4 separate regions of the Homo sapiens genome follow, and regions 2, 3 and 4 are each linked to region 1. The links are contacts of gene promoters, found by promoter capture Hi-C in blood cells and fetal thymus (Javierre and others, 2016). All regions are on one chromosome and are shown on one strand. The core of a region is centred on a gene start or on the middle of the fragment in contact, and the rest is flanking DNA. Distances in the headings are between cores, read along the strand shown.

Region 1 (4,338 bases), core at 546-3,045:
GAAATTGTTCAGATATTCAAGAATCACTGCTCTTTAATATTTTAGCTGGGCTCCTCCCTATCAAACAATTTCCATAGGGTAGAATTTACATTAATCACTAATACTACCTCTAATGCCACTTGACTGTTGCTTATTGTTTGTTTAGTCTTTCCAAAGTGCTTTTGCACTTTCACTCCTGACACATGCTTCAAGGAGCCAGGCACAAACAAAACCATGCATGCGATGGCATCGCATTGCCTCTACAAAGGGCATTAATCATAAGGGTCAACGTGCAAATTCAAATAGGAGTAGAAACTCAAAACAGTTTGTAGGAAGGTAAGTATTTCAATTAAAAAACAAAGGAAAAATTCAAAAAGAATTACAGAAATGATCCTGTACTTTTTTAGGACTGAAATTCACTGCTATTAGAACGCATTATTCTAAGCACGAACATTCTGGTAATAAACAGTGGTGGCGCCCAGGGGCAACTCCATCAGCCTCTCTGAAAGCTACCCTAAAGAACTGTGAAACTGCGTCTGCTATGCAAATACAGCTTCAAGACAAATGCTTTAACTTTCCACCCCCTTCCATTCCGGTTGCAGCCCCCTAAGCCCTTTCTATACAGAGATTCTGGAACTGTCACAACCCTTTCTGATGAAACGACCTCCCCCCACTCTACAATAAAAAGTCAGTAATGGGCACTGAGCAGTTGCTTAGCATTTCATAATACAAATCTCTCCTATCAAACGTTAAGTTTGGAAGGAAAGGAAGAAAGAAAGTACAGGATCAGGAGGCAGCTTTACCCTGTTGACACCTTATCAGAGCTCTAAAGGCTCTGGTCCAGCAGTTCTCAAATTTCAGAGGTTCTTAGACTCTCAACTCCACTCAGTGACTGGGATTCACTAGTTCTGCTGTGAATGAATTTTAAACAAAGCAGTTAATCTGGATGCAGGTGGTCCTCAAGCCACAGTTTCAGAAAAACAGTCTCTTACCTCTCAGATGATATCTAAAAAGAGTTTTCTCTCACTCCGAGGAAAACGGATATAATAGTTCATGAAATTTACATAAGTTTCTTCTGGGCCAGGCAAATATCCTCGAATAATTATTTCTTCTTTAGCGTAGTAAGAATGGCTGAGTGCGATAGTAAGAATGACTGTGTACATATCTCAGAGGTCGCATGTGGCACTCGAGGTAACAATAACAGCACCATCTTCACTTTATCCCTCTGTCTCGCGGAGATGTGCAGGCGTGGCCCCCAAGCCCATTCCAGACGACACGTTTCCTTAGGCCTGCAAAATATTATGGGAAAATGTACTTGTCAACATTTAAAGGTGGAGAGATTGCATGTAAAACCTGGACTGCCAGCTTCTGCGGAAAAATGAGGTAAGTCTGGCAACCCTGGCGCCTGCTCCAGCCCGGAATCGTCTGCTCTCTTATCTCCCTCCGTTCACTGAACTGCAGACCTCTGGTTGCCAGACGTCCCCTCGGAACAAAACACATACTCCACTCAGGCTAAGGGCTCCGCTGTTGGGTTGGGAAGATCACGCCAGACCCTCTCCTTCCCTTCCTGGAAGACCCGAATCCCGAGAGGAGGGTCGGAGGTGACGCGCAGGTCGACCCCCAAGGGAACCCACCCATTAGCCTCCGCACAGCCCGCTCCTCTCACCTTCCGAGAAGGGACTCTCCTCCTCCCCTTGAGCGGAGCCGATTGCGGTTGGAGAAACCCGCTCCGACGCCCCTAACTCACTGTGGCCAGAGCACCCACGGCCGGCAACGCAGAACACGGGTAACTTGCCTACACAGCGCGCGAAAGGCTGACCTTTCAATTTGCGCGGGTTCCTTGCGGCCCCGCCCAGAGGATGTGACGTCAACGCGTATCCCGCAACCCGGTTCCGCCTCCTGCGGCTTCCAACTCATAGGGTTGCGTCCTGAGCTCTCCGTCTCGCTGGGTAGACAGCGGCTCACTGCCATACGACTGCAGCCGCTGCTGCCGGCCCGAACTCCGTGCGGCTTCTTGAGGGCGCGAGTGGCACTGGCGCTGATGGCCGATGGTGAGCACCGCCTCGGAAGTTGGGAGTGTTTACACCCGCCGGGGCTGCTGGGCGTTGTAGTTCCCTCCTGGCTGCAGCCCCAGTTCTGGAGGCTGATGTTGAAAGAGCGCCGTCGCGCGTTGATGTTGAGGCTTTTCAAACCTGAAAAAGTTGCTCAGTCCCCCTCGGCGTCATCAGTCCCATCCTAATTCCTTCATTCTCTTTAAAACGCCCGGTTGCCTCTACAAATCGAAATTGAATTCAGTTCACGCTGGGTTCTTTTCCCCATTGCAGTAGTAGTAGTGATTAAAATCTGCCCCTACCATTTTACCTAGAACCCAGCTTCGTTTATTTTTGACATAAGTCGGGGAAAAATTAGCTATATAACAAGACCTTGAAAATGGGCCTTAGAGACAAAGACTTTAGAGGCATTTTGGACTTTCATGGTCACTTGTGGCTAGGTTTCCAATCCTCATAACACCCCAGACCTCGTCGCTGTCCTCTTAGGGATATTGTAATTTAAAAAATTGGAAGAAACCTTAGGCCAGACCACAAAGTAATGTTCTGGGCTCAAAGATCAATAGGAATGATAATGCAGACTCAATTCAAGGAATTGAAGGGGAAGAAGTGAGCACATTGTTAAACATGCTCCCCATTTGATTACGTTCTTTACATCTTTTCCTCTTTTAAAGTCTTTTTATGATCACTCTAACATCTATCATGCCAATTTTAAAGGCATCTATGATGCCTTAAATTTGTTACTAAAATTGTTGAAAAGGTGCCACATTTGGGGAATGTGTTTGGAAAAGCTGTGTTGCTTTCTCCCTGGTTCTGGTCTTTAGAGCTGGGACTAGGAGAGATGAGAAAAGTTATCTTCCCTCCCTCTTCCAAAGGCTATGGTAGACCTAACCCTAAACTAGCTTGGAGTGGACTCTTGGAGAAAGTGGGGGACAATTTCAAACTGCAGTAGATTAAAGAGGAACTTCGATGTGGGCAGCATGTGTTTGTAGAGAAGCCTTCTTACACTCATTGGACTATCCAGCTGTAGTAACTGCTTCAGTACCTAGAATCCAACCATGAATATATCACACATGGGGGTCTTAGGAAGGAACCCCAAAATCAAAAAGGTGTCCATTCCAGTGTCACTGGATCTGTCATAAAACTAACATGAGAGTTTGCTGCACTGTGAACGGCTCATGTATTTACTGTGAATTTGACTCCCAAGGTTTCAAACTGTATTCTTGGCTGCAGTGTTCAAAGACTAAAATTGGAAAAGAAAACACTAGTTACAATACATTTCACTAACAGAATATTTTTACTCTTTGGGAGGACAAAACCATTTGCATCAATGTGTGCAGTAATTTACTACTGCCTTAAGTGTGCCTGTCAGTTCCAGGTGGCATGGAGGCATAAAGAGATGTCCTGTGTCTTCAAGGAACTTAAGATCTAGTTCTGTAGACAAAACACATGTTTATGAGACAGTTAAGTCACAAATCATGATGGCATGTTATTAAATGCTGAAATAAATGGTATATCCCATATGTTTCCAGCTTAAGACTCAGTTCCAATGTTACCAGTTTCCAAATGTCTTCCCTAAGTTAGATATTTGTTTGATATGCACAAGCATTCTGTGATGGCTCTTTGGTCCTGACACTTCTCATATTCTCATTGTGTTTGAATTGTCTTTGCCCTTCAATAGACTGAAAACCTTTTGAGGTAGGGTTGCCAGATTTAGCAAATAATAACGTAGGACACCCAGAAATTTGAATTTCAGATGAACAACAGATAAATTTTTAATATATCTAATGCAATATTTGAGACATATACTAAAAGAAATCCCTGTTTATCTGAAATTTAAATTTATCTTGGCATTCTGTAATTTTATCTGGCAACCTTACTTTGAGGGCAGGGATTATGTCTATGAATTTTCACATCCCAGTAGCACTAGTGTTGATTTTAAACATTTCAAATGTGTGGACTAATACATGAATGTCCTAGGTATGGCACTATTATTATGGGTTTTCTGGGCTGCTCTTATCTTTATTTTTTTATTTTTTATTTTTATTTTTATTTTTTTTTAAGACAGAGTTTCGCTCCTGTTGCCCAGGCTGGAGTGCAATGGTGCGATCTCGGCTCACTGCAACCTCTGCCTCCTGGGTTCAAGCGATTCTCCTGCCTCAGCCTCCCAAGTAGCTGGGATTACAGGCATGCGCCACCACGCCTGGCTAATTTTGTATTTTAAGTAGAGACGGGGTTTCTCCATGTTGGTCAGGCTGGTCTCGAACTCCCAACCTCAGGTGATCCGCCCGCCTCAGCCTCCCAGAGTGCT
Region 2 (4,338 bases), core at 579-3,078, 230 kb after region 1:
GATATTCACGTTCTGTCCTAAGCCTACTGGATCAAGTATTTTCAAGGGCAGAGCCTAGGAATCAGCATTTTAAACCATCTCCTCAGGAGTTTCGTATGTAGCTATTTCAAAAGCTGGCATTTGGAAACAGCATTCTTATTAAAGGAAAGAGACATGCTGCTCTGATCCAGAAGGTGTTAAATTGAACATCAAAGAGATGAGTTAAATTCATGTTAACCCCAATTTGACAGTGTGGAAGAGAAGCTTGAAATAGTAGAATGTGAATGGGTCTGGGAACTAGCCTTGTTCTAACACCTACTTTGTGGTCTTGGGGAAAATATCTCATATTTCTAAAGTTTCCTTCTCCCACCTTCTTTTTTTTATTTTTATTTATTTATTTTTTTTAGTTCTTCATTACTTGACATTCTCAGATCAGGATGACTAAGACTTCCAAGGAAATGAGATTTTTCTTGCCTGTCCAGATTGTTCCACACTGGTCACCAATATGGGTTTTGCTTTATACTCCAACGCCTCCACCTCACAAGTTTGTTTACAACTTAAAGCATTTTGCCCAAACATAGAACTGCACAGGCTATATAGCAATTATGTTTTTCCTTAGCACGTTATATATGACAAGCTTCTTCTCTCATTCTTCTCATATGGTCCTGAGGTATCACATCACATTTTCTGGTTGATTAATTACTCACACACAATTACAGTGGAGCGTGTGATATTCATTCTTGAGAGAAGAGTCGCACTCGCCCTCTGTGTTTCCGTGCTCTCCATTTGCATCAGCAGCAGGGTAATAGAAAATGACTTAAATGGAATCAGTGTTGTTATCACCCGCTCTAAAACCTAAACCCTGAGCTCCCTTGAGAGCTTTGTAAATTATAAATGATGGAATGAAGATTTAATTCAGTGCCTCTGAGATTCCCTCATATTTTTCATTTGCTCTTCTGGGATATCGGATTTTTTTCATTTGCTGTCAGGTTAATAATCTAGGAAGGAACACTTAGAAACTAGACTCATCATTGCAGGTCACAGAGCTATTCCACAATTTATTCATGTGTTGAATGTTTTCATAGAATTAAAAAGACCTCAAGCTTCGCCATTGCTGAGAAACAACTTGCTTTGTGTAATCTTTTTGGGGAAAATCCAAATAGAGCTCCACACTAGCAGTCAGAAGGTCTGGGTTCTCATTCAAATAGAACCTTCCTAGTCTTGTGACCTTAGGCTAGTCACGGATATCAGCCCCTTTTCTCACACTCTCATCAAATGGGGACGATGAGACTTTCCTGCCTGACATGTCTGGAAAGATCTAATTAGAAAAATACATTAAAAAGTACTTTGAAAATTATAAAATATCATATGAAATAAAGTTATTATAATGTATTATTTTGATTAGAGAATAAGAGATGATAAATCCAACAGGATTGTCATTTGACTTTATAACACTCATAAAAATGAATATTTTATAGATTTTTTAATAGCCAAAAATTATCATGTAAGGACTGTCAAATCATATTTTGAGTTGAAAAAGTGATCCTTTAGGTAAAAAACAGCAGGGAGTTGGCCTTGTTTTACATTCTTCTGACCTGTGTATTGCTAGTTCCCTGAGGGAAAAAAAAATTTTTCATTGAAATGTCAACTGTGGCTATTTCTAAGCAACATTTCACCTGAGTGTTTGGTTAATTACAGGGATGACCATGTTTACTCCAGGATTTTTCCTTGTTATTTGGAAAGAAACATGGTCATGTGTATATAACTTTTATCAGCAGCAAATACATAATAATCCCTTGTACTATTCTCGGTGCCAAAATGATGTCAAAATACAAAGACATACTTAAGTATGTCATACTTAAGTTTACAATTTAATTGGAGAGGTAAGACATAAGTACACAGAATTGTACCAAAATATAGTAAGTAGGAAATAGCAGCCATGAAGATAGTCTGTTTGTGTTGTGGACGGACAGAGTGAGGTATGCACTAAGGAAGTTATAAATGGTGAAAGAGAAGGTTGACTAGGTAGTGCAAGAAATACACAGAGTTTCTTAATAGCCAGCATGCTATGCGAAGGGAGCTTTGCAGGTCATTATTCCAGAAAGGGCTTTGTGAAAGTAATAAGATGATTATCTTAGCACACGTTCCCCGCATATAAAGCCTAAGGCAAAGCATATATGCTAATGCTTTATTGGGGATCATAATCCCAGGGAATCAAAAGTAAGGGAATAGAGGAAGAGGCAGGGAAAGGAGGAGGCCAAATCTTAGAGAGAGGATGCACCACCGAGTTGGCCACGATTGGTCACTGGGTCTTGCAGGACATCTTCAGAGAGACCACCTGATACTAACGCAGCTTGAAACAACCCATGGCATGACAGGAGAGTGCAAGCAATCTAATCTCTGGCTTCTTCCTGTCTCTTGGCCATTGGTCCAACTCTGCTCCATGAGATGTTAATGTCCGTTTGCCTCTAGGTTGGATCAGCCAGCTTCAGGCAGCCACTAGGGAAGCCAGAGCCTCCATGGGTCCAGTGCAGCAAGGCACTATCTGCATGCAGGTATGCAATGGTGGTGACAGTGGCAGCAGCTGAAGCTTTGTAACTATAGTCATAGAGCCACCGCTGCTGGGAAGCAAGGCAAATAGGGCACACAGTTGGGAGTAGGAGCTTGTGAGTGGAGTCACGGAGATCTGGGATGGCACACGAATAGAGTCCAGTCAATGATTAATCTGGTATGTGGTGCCCAGGAGGATGACAAAGGCTGTACAAACAAAAGAAATTTAGTCATAGATGGCTGACAGCAGTCATTTACGGAATATGAACCTGCACTAGAATAGTGGGAATGGTATGAGGCACAGAAATGAATTTAGAAATGTTTCCTAAGAAAGGCTTTCTGTTGGTTTTAAAAGCAAATACGAGATAGGGGATAGAGGAATGGGAAAACTAAGCAAAACAATGTGTTCCTAAAGTGGATCAGAGTCTGATGCAGTTTTCTTGAGCATACTGTGGTAGGTTATCATAAAACCTAGATTGCTGTGTTCACGAAATAATTTTAAGTGTTGGAAACAAAGCGTATGCCTCCCATTTTATCTGTGGTACCACACTTCACACTTTTATTCTATGAGTGCAGTTGATTTAGGATTAGAATTTAGAATTCTCAGTTCCTGTTAAGTGCTTTCATCCAACTGTTTTTTTTTTTTTTTTTTTAGACTTTGGCCCCACTGTGCTTATGTTTGTTATTCTTCTGAACCTTAATTAATTCCACAGAGAAGTTACTTTATATTCAAACTTTTTTCCCACTCAGCCCATAGACTCTGGTCATACTGGATATTTCTTGGGTCTCTTAGTGTAATAATGATCCTTTTTTGCATTGTTAACCATCTTGTTCAATATCCTTTCCTGACGAGCAGAGGCATAAGTGTGGAAAAAGTTCTAATGAGGTCCTATTCCAAGATAGGGCTCTCCTTTTCCTTGGTTATGGTTTGTGGAGTTTAAGCAATTACTGGGGGGAAACAAACGCCTAAAGCTTTGTCAAATCAGAGGCAAGTCAAAAAGTCTAAGGCTAGGATATCTGTCCAAACGGGACTATAGGCAGAAAAGCCTAAGGCTAGGATATCTGTCCAAATGGGACTATGGGCAGAAAAGCCTAAGGCTAGGATATCTGTCCGAATGGGACTGTAGGCAGAAAAGCCTAAGGCTAGGATATCTGTCCAAATGGGACTATAGGCAGAAAAGAAGCCAAGTTTGAAGCCAGAATGGTCAGAGAACAAGGGGAGCTGATATTAAAAGAACCAAAGATAACAGAGGGGAGGTAAGCCTGGCACGATTTCCAAGCTACTGCACAGGTGCCCAGCGTAGCCTAGGAGGAGATGCTTATGGTGAAAAATGTCCGTATGTTTTAACAACTATGGCAACTATTTGCCCCGTGTACCCTATTTTTTAAAAAGTCACTAAATTTAATAGAAAAAAAATGCAATGCATGTGAAATACCAGTGAAGGATAGCATGAGTGAGCACAATGGAAACAACAGTGCAGCATTTTAAACTGTGAGCAGCTAGCCACAGACCACAGCATGTGGCCTGCCTCATTCAATCGTTCTCTTCTGGTAGTTCACTGGCCCTCTCTTAAGGGGCCTCTCAGTTTTAAATGCACTGCAAGCATTTGGGTAGCTATGACACACAATGGTCAGAAATACATTTCTATATAAGTTGATTACCTGAAATCATAATTTTTTTTTTTAATTTTGAGACGGAGTCTCACTCTGTTGCCCAGGCTGGAGTGCATTGGCATGATCTCGGCTGACTGCAACCTCCACCTCATGGATTCCAGCGATTCTCCTGCTTCAGCCTCCCAAGTAGCTGGG
Region 3 (4,338 bases), core at 980-3,479, 210 kb after region 1:
ATATTTTTGAGACAGAGGCTTTGACTAGACAGGACTGTTAGGATTGCCATTTTAGTTAAACTAAAGGTGTGTGCCCTATGCAATTTAATCTAAGTTCCAATTGAATGGCTTGTTTTTCCAGTATCCAGGATTATTAGTCATCTTGGGCTAGACAGGTACAGCTTGTACTGATTTATATTTCAGTAGGTTTAACAGTAGTGAAAACCAGAGCTCAAAACTGTGCAATGATGAATATTAGAAAGTTTAGCAGTATTGTTGCTTTAGCCTAAAGACTTTCAGGTGAGTATGCTCTTCAGCACCTTGGCCTTTCTACCTCTGGCCACACAGGGCATCACACAGATGTCTTCCGCACATGGAATGTAACCAGCATTATGCTCAAAGTTAACAGGAGAACCTTATTATTTTTTTTTTTTTAAACTTCCCCTTCAAAAATAAGAACAAACAGTGTTAGTCTTGGCAGAGGATGTTTAGATAGACCTTTTGCTTGGGATGCAGAGATTCAGGGTTGCAGAGACAGTGGCGAAATGCAAACATCACTGTATTCAAATGTTAGAAGTAGGTATTATTTATGTTAAGATATTTTAATATGAAATCAGAAGTTTTCCTTTTTTACTTACACTTACACACTTTTTTCCTTTATTACTTATATGCATGTGTACATTCATATAATATTTTTAATACATTTTCCTCCTCAGGGCTATTATGAGCCTAAATATTTTTAAATGGCCAGTTGTTTTACTGAATTAATCCTTTTGTAATAATCTGACTAGTAATTGAGTAGAAATAGTCTCATGTTGCTACCATGAGATCCTAAGGGTGGTTGTGGCATGGAAAGGTCTTATATTCAGCTGTTCTGGAATCACACATAGACTGTAATGGCCACAGAAATATTTTGAATCATGGCAGTATGCACATAGTTTATAATCTGTTTCTATAAACAGTGGAGCCATGCGTTCCTTTTAGTCTAAGCTCACAGCTGTGTATAGATTTATTCACATGATAGTTTTCTTAAAAGCTAAAGTTAGAGAATTGTATTATGTTATTTCTTCTTTATTTTTGTGGAACATTATGTTCATTCTCTATTACTATGTTGCCTGATTCTTGGGAGGGCTGTTATATCTCTATTGTCCATTCTCAAGAAATTAGAAAATATGTGAGAAAGCATTTAAGACATGCTTTAGTAGAGGTTTATGTCCAAATAAGATGTCACACTCCAATGGATTGTCATTGTTGCATGAAATTATTTTTCTCTTATATTGTTTACAATGTATTCTTTCTTGAATTTTCTTCTTTCAGAGAAGAGTTCCAGTCACAAATGCATATATGATGCATTTTGACATTTACTGCTAAGATGAAATGCAGAAATGAAACCACACATCCATTTTAGTATTCTCAGATGTGATTAGATGTACTTGCTCATGTTTTTATGCTACTGACTTATAAGAAAAAAAATATTTTAAAAGGGTAACCGTTAAACAGCTAGGACCTGCAACTTCAGTGCTTCTGGGATAACTGGAACATCAGAAGGACAGATTTTATTACAGCATAATCACACCTCATTTCTTTCATCAGCAGTTGTCACCAGACGCTGTTACTTCCTAAAATGGCGGACAATCTTCCCACAGAGTTTGATGTGGTTATAATAGGGACAGGTTTGCCCGAATCCATCCTTGCAGCTGCATGTTCAAGAAGTGGTCAGAGGGTTCTGCATATTGATTCAAGAAGCTACTATGGAGGAAACTGGGCTAGTTTCAGCTTTTCAGGATTGCTATCCTGGTTGAAGGAGTATCAGCAAAACAATGACATTGGGGAAGAAAGTACTGTTGTATGGCAGGACCTGATCCATGAAACAGAAGAAGCCATCACTCTTCGCAAGAAGGATGAAACTATTCAACACACAGAAGCTTTTTGCTACGCCAGTCAGGATATGGAGGACAACGTTGAAGAGATTGGTGCTCTGCAGAAAAATCCTTCTTTGGGGGTGTCTAATACCTTCACTGAAGTTCTGGATTCTGCATTACCTGAAGAAAGCCAGTTATCGTATTTTAATAGCGACGAAATGCCTGCAAAACACACTCAGAAAAGTGATACAGAGATTTCACTAGAAGTAACTGATGTAGAGGAATCAGTGGAGAAGGAAAAGTATTGTGGAGATAAAACTTGTATGCACACAGTTTCAGATAAAGATGGAGATAAAGATGAAAGCAAATCTACAGTAGAAGATAAGGCCGATGAACCAATTAGAAATAGGATTACTTACTCTCAAATAGTTAAAGAAGGCAGGAGGTTTAATATTGATTTGGTGTCAAAACTGCTGTATTCTCAAGGATTGCTAATTGATCTTTTAATCAAATCAGATGTTAGTCGTTATGTAGAATTTAAAAATGTCACTAGGATTCTTGCATTTCGGGAAGGAAAGGTAGAACAAGTTCCTTGTTCCAGAGCAGATGTCTTTAATAGCAAGGAACTCACCATGGTTGAAAAGAGGATGCTAATGAAATTTCTCACATTTTGTTTAGAGTATGAACAACATCCTGATGAATACCAAGCTTTCAGGCAGTGTTCATTTTCAGAATACTTAAAAACTAAAAAACTAACTCCCAACCTTCAACATTTTGTACTGCACTCAATTGCAATGACATCAGAATCATCTTGCACTACAATAGATGGTCTTAACGCAACTAAAAACTTCCTTCAGTGTCTCGGACGGTTTGGCAACACCCCCTTTTTATTTCCCTTGTATGGCCAAGGAGAAATTCCCCAGGGTTTCTGTAGGATGTGTGCAGTTTTTGGTGGAATCTATTGTCTTCGTCATAAAGTACAATGCTTTGTAGTCGACAAAGAATCTGGACGATGTAAAGCAATTATAGATCACTTTGGTCAAAGAATAAATGCTAAATATTTTATTGTGGAAGACAGTTACCTTTCTGAGGAAACATGCTCAAATGTGCAGTATAAGCAGATCTCTAGGGCAGTACTCATTACAGATCAGTCTATACTAAAGACAGATTTAGATCAGCAGACTTCCATTCTGATAGTTCCTCCAGCAGAGCCAGGAGCTTGTGCTGTACGGGTCACAGAATTATGTTCTTCAACCATGACATGCATGAAGGACACCTATCTGGTACATTTGACATGTTCATCTTCTAAAACAGCAAGAGAAGACTTAGAATCAGTGGTGAAGAAATTATTCACTCCGTATACTGAAACAGAAATAAACGAGGAAGAACTTACAAAGCCAAGACTCTTGTGGGCTCTTTATTTTAATATGAGAGATTCCTCGGGAATCAGCAGAAGCTCGTATAATGGCTTGCCTTCCAATGTTTATGTCTGCTCTGGGCCTGACTGTGGCCTGGGAAATGAGCATGCTGTCAAGCAAGCTGAAACACTTTTCCAGGAGATCTTTCCAACTGAAGAATTCTGCCCTCCACCTCCAAATCCAGAAGACATTATCTTTGATGGTGATGATAAGCAGCCAGAGGCTCCTGGAACCAATAATGTAGTAATGGCCAAACTAGAATCCTCTGAGGAAAGCAAAAACCTAGAAAGCCCAGAGAAGCACCTTCAAAATTAGAAAAGAGCAATCTCGAAATGCTGTTTTGGACCTCCTTCATGGCATCAGAATTTTCTCATTTAAAGGACAGTTTCCCATATGAGTAATTAGAAGTGGTTATATATGATGAATGCTATGCAGATGTTGTCTTTAACTCTCAGACATTCAGCATTGAATATCTTTGTTAACCTATCAATGAGTGATTTATTGATTATTGAACATTTTGTTTAGAATGGGCTATATGACCCAGAATCTTAAAACAGAGTTAGCTTTATTTTAGTATTGGGTATATATGTAAGGGTTCCATATTAGCAACTCAGCTTAAAGGTAATGTATTTGCTAATGATCTTCAGATTTTATCTTTGTCTACAGAACAATTAGTAATACCCAAGTAATATTTTAATTACTTTTGCAGCTGTTACAGTTGCTGCGGCCTGTTCGAATAGTGAAACATACACAAATGGTAAATTATGTGGATCTTTTGCATATAATATAAATGTATAGACATGGTGGTAGGAATAGCAACTAATACAAATGCCAATATGATAATAAAATACATTTGTCTATAATCGTTTAAAGATTAGCTTTGCATGATCCTTTATGCACTGTGAAGGTCTGAAGTTTATAATACTCACTTGACCCTTGTAACTGATGAGGCAATGATGCCACCACAGTATTCTAATTTACAAAAAGAATTGGAGTTCAATTAGTGGTTGTAAAGCTCATTTTGGGGAGGTTGATTGCAAAGGAAATTTGAAAGATAAGATTTATTCTTATTTAATACT
Region 4 (4,338 bases), core at 760-3,259, 180 kb after region 1:
GGAGGTTGAGGTGCAGTGAGTTGTGATTGCACCACTGCACTCCAGCCTGGGTGACAGAGCGAGACCCTGTCTCAAAAAAAAAAAAAAAGAAAAGAAAAAAAAAGATAAACAGCCAGCTTTTTTGCTAGAAAGCCCCAAGTTACTTAAAAATTAAAGTAGAATAAAACCTAAAACCCGGCAACCATTGTGTTTTAATGATCCTCAGAGATACTAATTTGCATATATAGAGCTTTCTAACTAAATGTGGTACATTAATTCCCAGAGAAAAGGCAAGACACACACCCACCCACCCCCTACACACACACGTGCATGTGCATATTTCACAGAGAACACGTTTTCTAAACATCGTTTGGAGTCATTTCTTTTTTGAGATATTTCACATCTTTTAGGACTCCTTTCTTTGAATTCTCACCATTGTGGTTTACGCATGATAAAAACTTAATACCATCTCAGGCTTTTCAATATAAAAGAATGAAACTAGGACTGTCATTAAGACTTAAAAAAATGTGCATTTTGAAAAAAAAAGACTAGCTAGACACTTTTATGTTTCTATGGCCATGCACTGAATGATAAAGCCATATATATAGAATTTCTTCCAGGGCACTTAATTTTTATAATTGCAAACTCTTAGGAAAGAAAGGCAAGTGAACAGGTGTCATACCCTAGTATTACCACCCTCATCCGTGTATCTCAACAGAGAAGATATTGCCCCCCAAAGGGGTACAAATTAGTTCTTGGAGGGAACATGAATCCATTTTACTCTTTTTGTGCAGAAAGCACAGATACGCATGTAGTATATAATTGGATACACTTAGTAATTAATACCTGAGGCATTAAAATGGCATGGAGCAGGATAAGGCAGAGGGGAAGGCAATTAGGAACAGAAAGTCTAAAAAGGCTCCTTAGGGTTCAGTAATTTAAAAAAAAAGATGGAGAAACACTGCCCTATTGCAAGCCACCATCATTCTCTCTGCTTCCACCCCTTCCACACTACAGACTATTTTTTTTTAAATTTTATTACTATACTTTAAGTTTTAGGGTACATGTGCACAATGTGCAGGTTTGTTACGTATGTATACATGTGCCATGTTGGTGTGCTGCACCCATTAACTCGTCATTTAGCATTAGGTGTATCTCCTAATGCTATCCCTCCCCCCACCCCACAACAGTCCCTGGTGTGTGATGTTCCCCTTCCTGTGTCCATGTGTCCTCATTGTTCAGTTCCCACCTATGAGTGAGAACATGCGGTGTTTGGTTTTTTGTCCTTGCGATAGTTTGCTGAGAATGATGGTTTCCAGCTTCATCCACGTCCCTACAAAGGACATGAACTAGTACAGACTATTTTAAATGCAGAAGCTGGAAAAGAATATAAAGGATAACTCAGGTGACTCCCTCCTCTATCCACAGCCCCCTTGTAGCTTTGTGCCTCATTCAGAAGTCTTCAGCATGTCATACAAGTCCCAGTACACCTGTCCCCACTCCCATCGTTGCTTCTCCAACCTTAGCTCCCACCACTCTCCCCACTACCTGAAATGCATGGTTTGCTCTCTCACTTTCTACAGATCTTTTTCACCTTCCCAGTGGGGACTTCCCTGACCACCCCATCAACCACCATGCTCCCATCCTCAAACCACCTTCTCCTTCCCACATTCCTGCTTTATTTTCCCCACAACCTGCTTTTTGTCCTATAGTGTGTATTACCATCTGACATACTGTATATTTTACTTGTTTAATTTTTGCTATTGTCTGCCTCTCCCTATTGGAATGTAAACTCCATGAGGTCAGGGATTTGTGTCTGTTTGTTCACCGCTCTGTCTCTAGCATTTAGAAAGGTGTCTGGCCTACATAGTAGACTTTAGCAAATATTTGTTGAGTGATAAATGAATTACAGAATGCAACTGCCATCTAGAAAAATACTTGCAAAGCCCTAACATAGACTGCCAGCCACACTTCTCCCCTGCTCTGGGGCCCCTCCTTAGCTCAGTGTGGTGGCAGCAGGGACAGCCCTTTTGTGTCTGTGTGTGTGTGTGTGTTTTCTTTTTCTTTTTCTTTTTTTTTCTAGTTCCCATGGCCAGAAGCCAGGCTCTGTTGAGGTCAGTGGTTGGACTAAGAAAGAGTCAAGGATGAAGGTGGGTTTGGCTCACAAAGCCTTCCAGGTGCTTTGTTTGTTTGTTTGTTTGAGACAGAGTCTCTGTCACCCAGGCTGGAGTGCAGTGGTGGCATCTAAGCTCACTGCAATCTCCACCTCTGGAGTTCAAGTGATTCTTCTGCCTCAGCCTCCCGAGTAGCTGGGACTACAGGTGCACACCACCATGGCTGGCTAATTTTTGTATTTTTAGTAGAGACAGGGTTTCATTATGTTGGCCAGGCTGGTCTCGAACTCCTGACCTCAGGTGATCCATCCCCCCTTGACCTCCTCAAAGTGCCAGGATTACAGGCATGACCCACTGTGCCCAGACTCCCGGTACTTTTTTAAGAGACATCACATTTGACCTTCATCTCAGAATATGAGAGGAAATGCTGGAAGACAGGAGTAGGTTTGAAAGTTTGTCTTCCCTCTTCCTGACCTCCTCCCACCATGGAGGGAAGAAGGAGAAGAAACCCCAAGGTGTTAAGAGTGGAGAGGGATGGGAGGTCCTGGGTCCCAGGCTCAAAGTTGAAAATGAAGAACACATACATTAGAGACTTCCCAGACTGGGACAGTGCCCATCCATGACTGGCCCAAGCTCTCAAGAGATGTCAGGTTAAACATCTTTAAGATAATCCCGGGTAGATGAGAGTGAATAGAAGAGTCATGTTTAGTGAAAACTCAAAAAGTTAATTTTAAGAATAGTTTAAAAGAAACATGACTTCTTTTACTGGAGCATGCATTATTGTGACATCATTGCAGAGAGGTTTAACTGGAAGTCTGAGCCTTTTCAGGAAAATGTGAATTTTCTTCCATCACATTCTCTATTTAGTGTCCTTCAAAGAAATTATAATATTTCCATTTCAACAGTAGTAGAGTTTCTTCTGATACTGCATATGAAACTCTCACCACCCCCGACACCTAGTGATAAAGTATTGAACAAATACATAAAATGAAAAGTGATTCTATGGAAAATATAGTTCCAGTATTCTTGAGGAAAATATTAAAACTCATACTAATTTGGAAGAGAAAATTAAAATGTCACCTGAAATTAAAATTCGCCTTTTTCTAGACACAAAGAAAACCAAATTTTCTTCATCCAACTGGGAAGCAATAGGATCTTCTTCAGAGGAGAAGTATCCAAAGATCTGAAATCCCAAACAGCACATATAAATATGCAGCATGCCTCAGAATTAGCTATAAAGTAGCAGATCTCATGTTGGCTGAATTTAAAGCTAGTTAGGATTAACAGCCAGCACCCTGCTTTGTGAATGTCAGGGGGTTCCCTATACCAGGAGACAGTTTAATACAGCAGTCCCCAACCTTCTTGACACCAGGCACCAGTTTCATGGAAGACACTTTTTCCACGGACCAGGGCAGGGGATGCTTTCGGGATGAAACTCTTCCACCTCAGATCATCAGGCACTAGATTCTCATAAGGAGCATGCAATCTAGATCCCTTGCATACACAGTTCACAACAGGGCTGACGCTTCTGTGAGGATCTAGTGCCACTGCTGATCTGAGAGGAGGCGGAGCTCAGGCAGTGATGCTCTCTCCCCCACTGATCACCTCCTGCTGTGCGGCCCAGTTCCTAACAGTCCATGGACTGGTGGGGTTGAGGACCCCTGGTTTAATATATTCAACAAACTGTATACTGATAATGCATGATTTTTGAGCGGTTACTGATTTTTCTTTTCAATAGAACTGACACTCAGACTGATAGATCTATTCGGAGCTGGCACTTACTTGGAAATCAAATCAGTCCTCATCATGCAGGGCCCCAGCTAAGAACTTTGACACTGACTTTGGCCACTCTCAAATGACTGTCTTACCCATTTTCCATGAATTTTTCAGGGCTAGATTTTTTTTTTCTTTATCCCTGTTGGGGGAGTTTTTATGCCTGTTGGTGGGAACTTAAGAGTTGCTTTAAGTGTTCCAAATCCTACTCTGTAGGCATTGCGTGAGAATAAATTACCATGAAAAAAAAATTGTGAGGAAGAAAAGAGTTCTTATTTGTGAATAAACTGTCGAATTATATAACTCTGAAAAATGAAGAAAATAAGATAGCTGTTCTTTGTCTTATTAACCAACAGAAATAAAATTCTTATAAATTAATGAGCGAACTTAAAAATAATTATGTATTTAAATTTTGAAATTAATAAAATGCTTATAAAAGTTATATAATTAGTATATCAGTATTTCTCATAAA

Evidence for each region. Contacts are between HindIII fragments. The CHiCAGO score rates a contact against its expected background, and 5 or more counts as called.
Region 2: a fragment that was not itself captured here is called in contact with the fragment with the promoter of EXO1 in region 1 in 4 of 17 cell types (naive CD8 T cells, naive CD4 T cells, total CD8 T cells and 1 more); the score reaches 7.2 in naive CD8 T cells.
Region 3: a fragment that was not itself captured here is called in contact with the fragment with the promoter of EXO1 in region 1 in 1 of 17 cell types (total CD8 T cells); the score reaches 6.1 in total CD8 T cells.
Region 4: a contact is called between a fragment that was not itself captured here and the fragment with the promoter of EXO1 in region 1, in 1 of 17 cell types (total CD4 T cells). The highest score is 5.1, in total CD4 T cells.

The regions. Positions count from the first base shown.
Region 1 is chr1:241,845,661-241,849,998 of GRCh38, reverse strand. EXO1 (exonuclease 1) reads right to left here and starts at 1,795. Exons shown (of 16, transcript NM_130398.4): 1 at 1,646-1,795; 2 at 972-1,268; 3 at 783-887. RefSeq lists an enhancer at 1,760-2,099. The HindIII fragment of the contact is 5,044 bases long and covers 1-4,338 here.
Region 2 is chr1:241,614,050-241,618,387 of GRCh38, reverse strand. All of the region lies in intron 1 of OPN3 (opsin 3), which reads left to right. Among named protein-coding and RNA genes, the nearest start is that of CHML, 24 kb to the left of the region's middle. The HindIII fragment of the contact is 1,487 bases long and covers 1,085-2,571 here.
Region 3 is chr1:241,633,032-241,637,369 of GRCh38, reverse strand. The region is part of intron 1 of OPN3 (opsin 3); the gene reads left to right. CHML (CHM like Rab escort protein) reads left to right here. Exons shown (of 2, transcript NM_001381853.1): 2 at 1,297-4,338. The coding sequence starts at 1,604. The coding sequence ends at 3,574. Among named protein-coding and RNA genes, the nearest start is that of CHML, 5.2 kb to the left of the region's middle. The HindIII fragment of the contact is 645 bases long and covers 1,907-2,551 here.
Region 4 is chr1:241,670,012-241,674,349 of GRCh38, reverse strand. It overlaps WDR64 (WD repeat domain 64), which reads right to left. Exons shown (of 28, transcript NM_001367482.1): 3 at 3,174-3,276. The region is part of intron 2 of LOC124904603 (a long non-coding RNA gene); the gene reads left to right. Among named protein-coding and RNA genes, the nearest start is that of WDR64, 20 kb to the right of the region's middle. The HindIII fragment of the contact is 4,933 bases long and covers 1-4,338 here.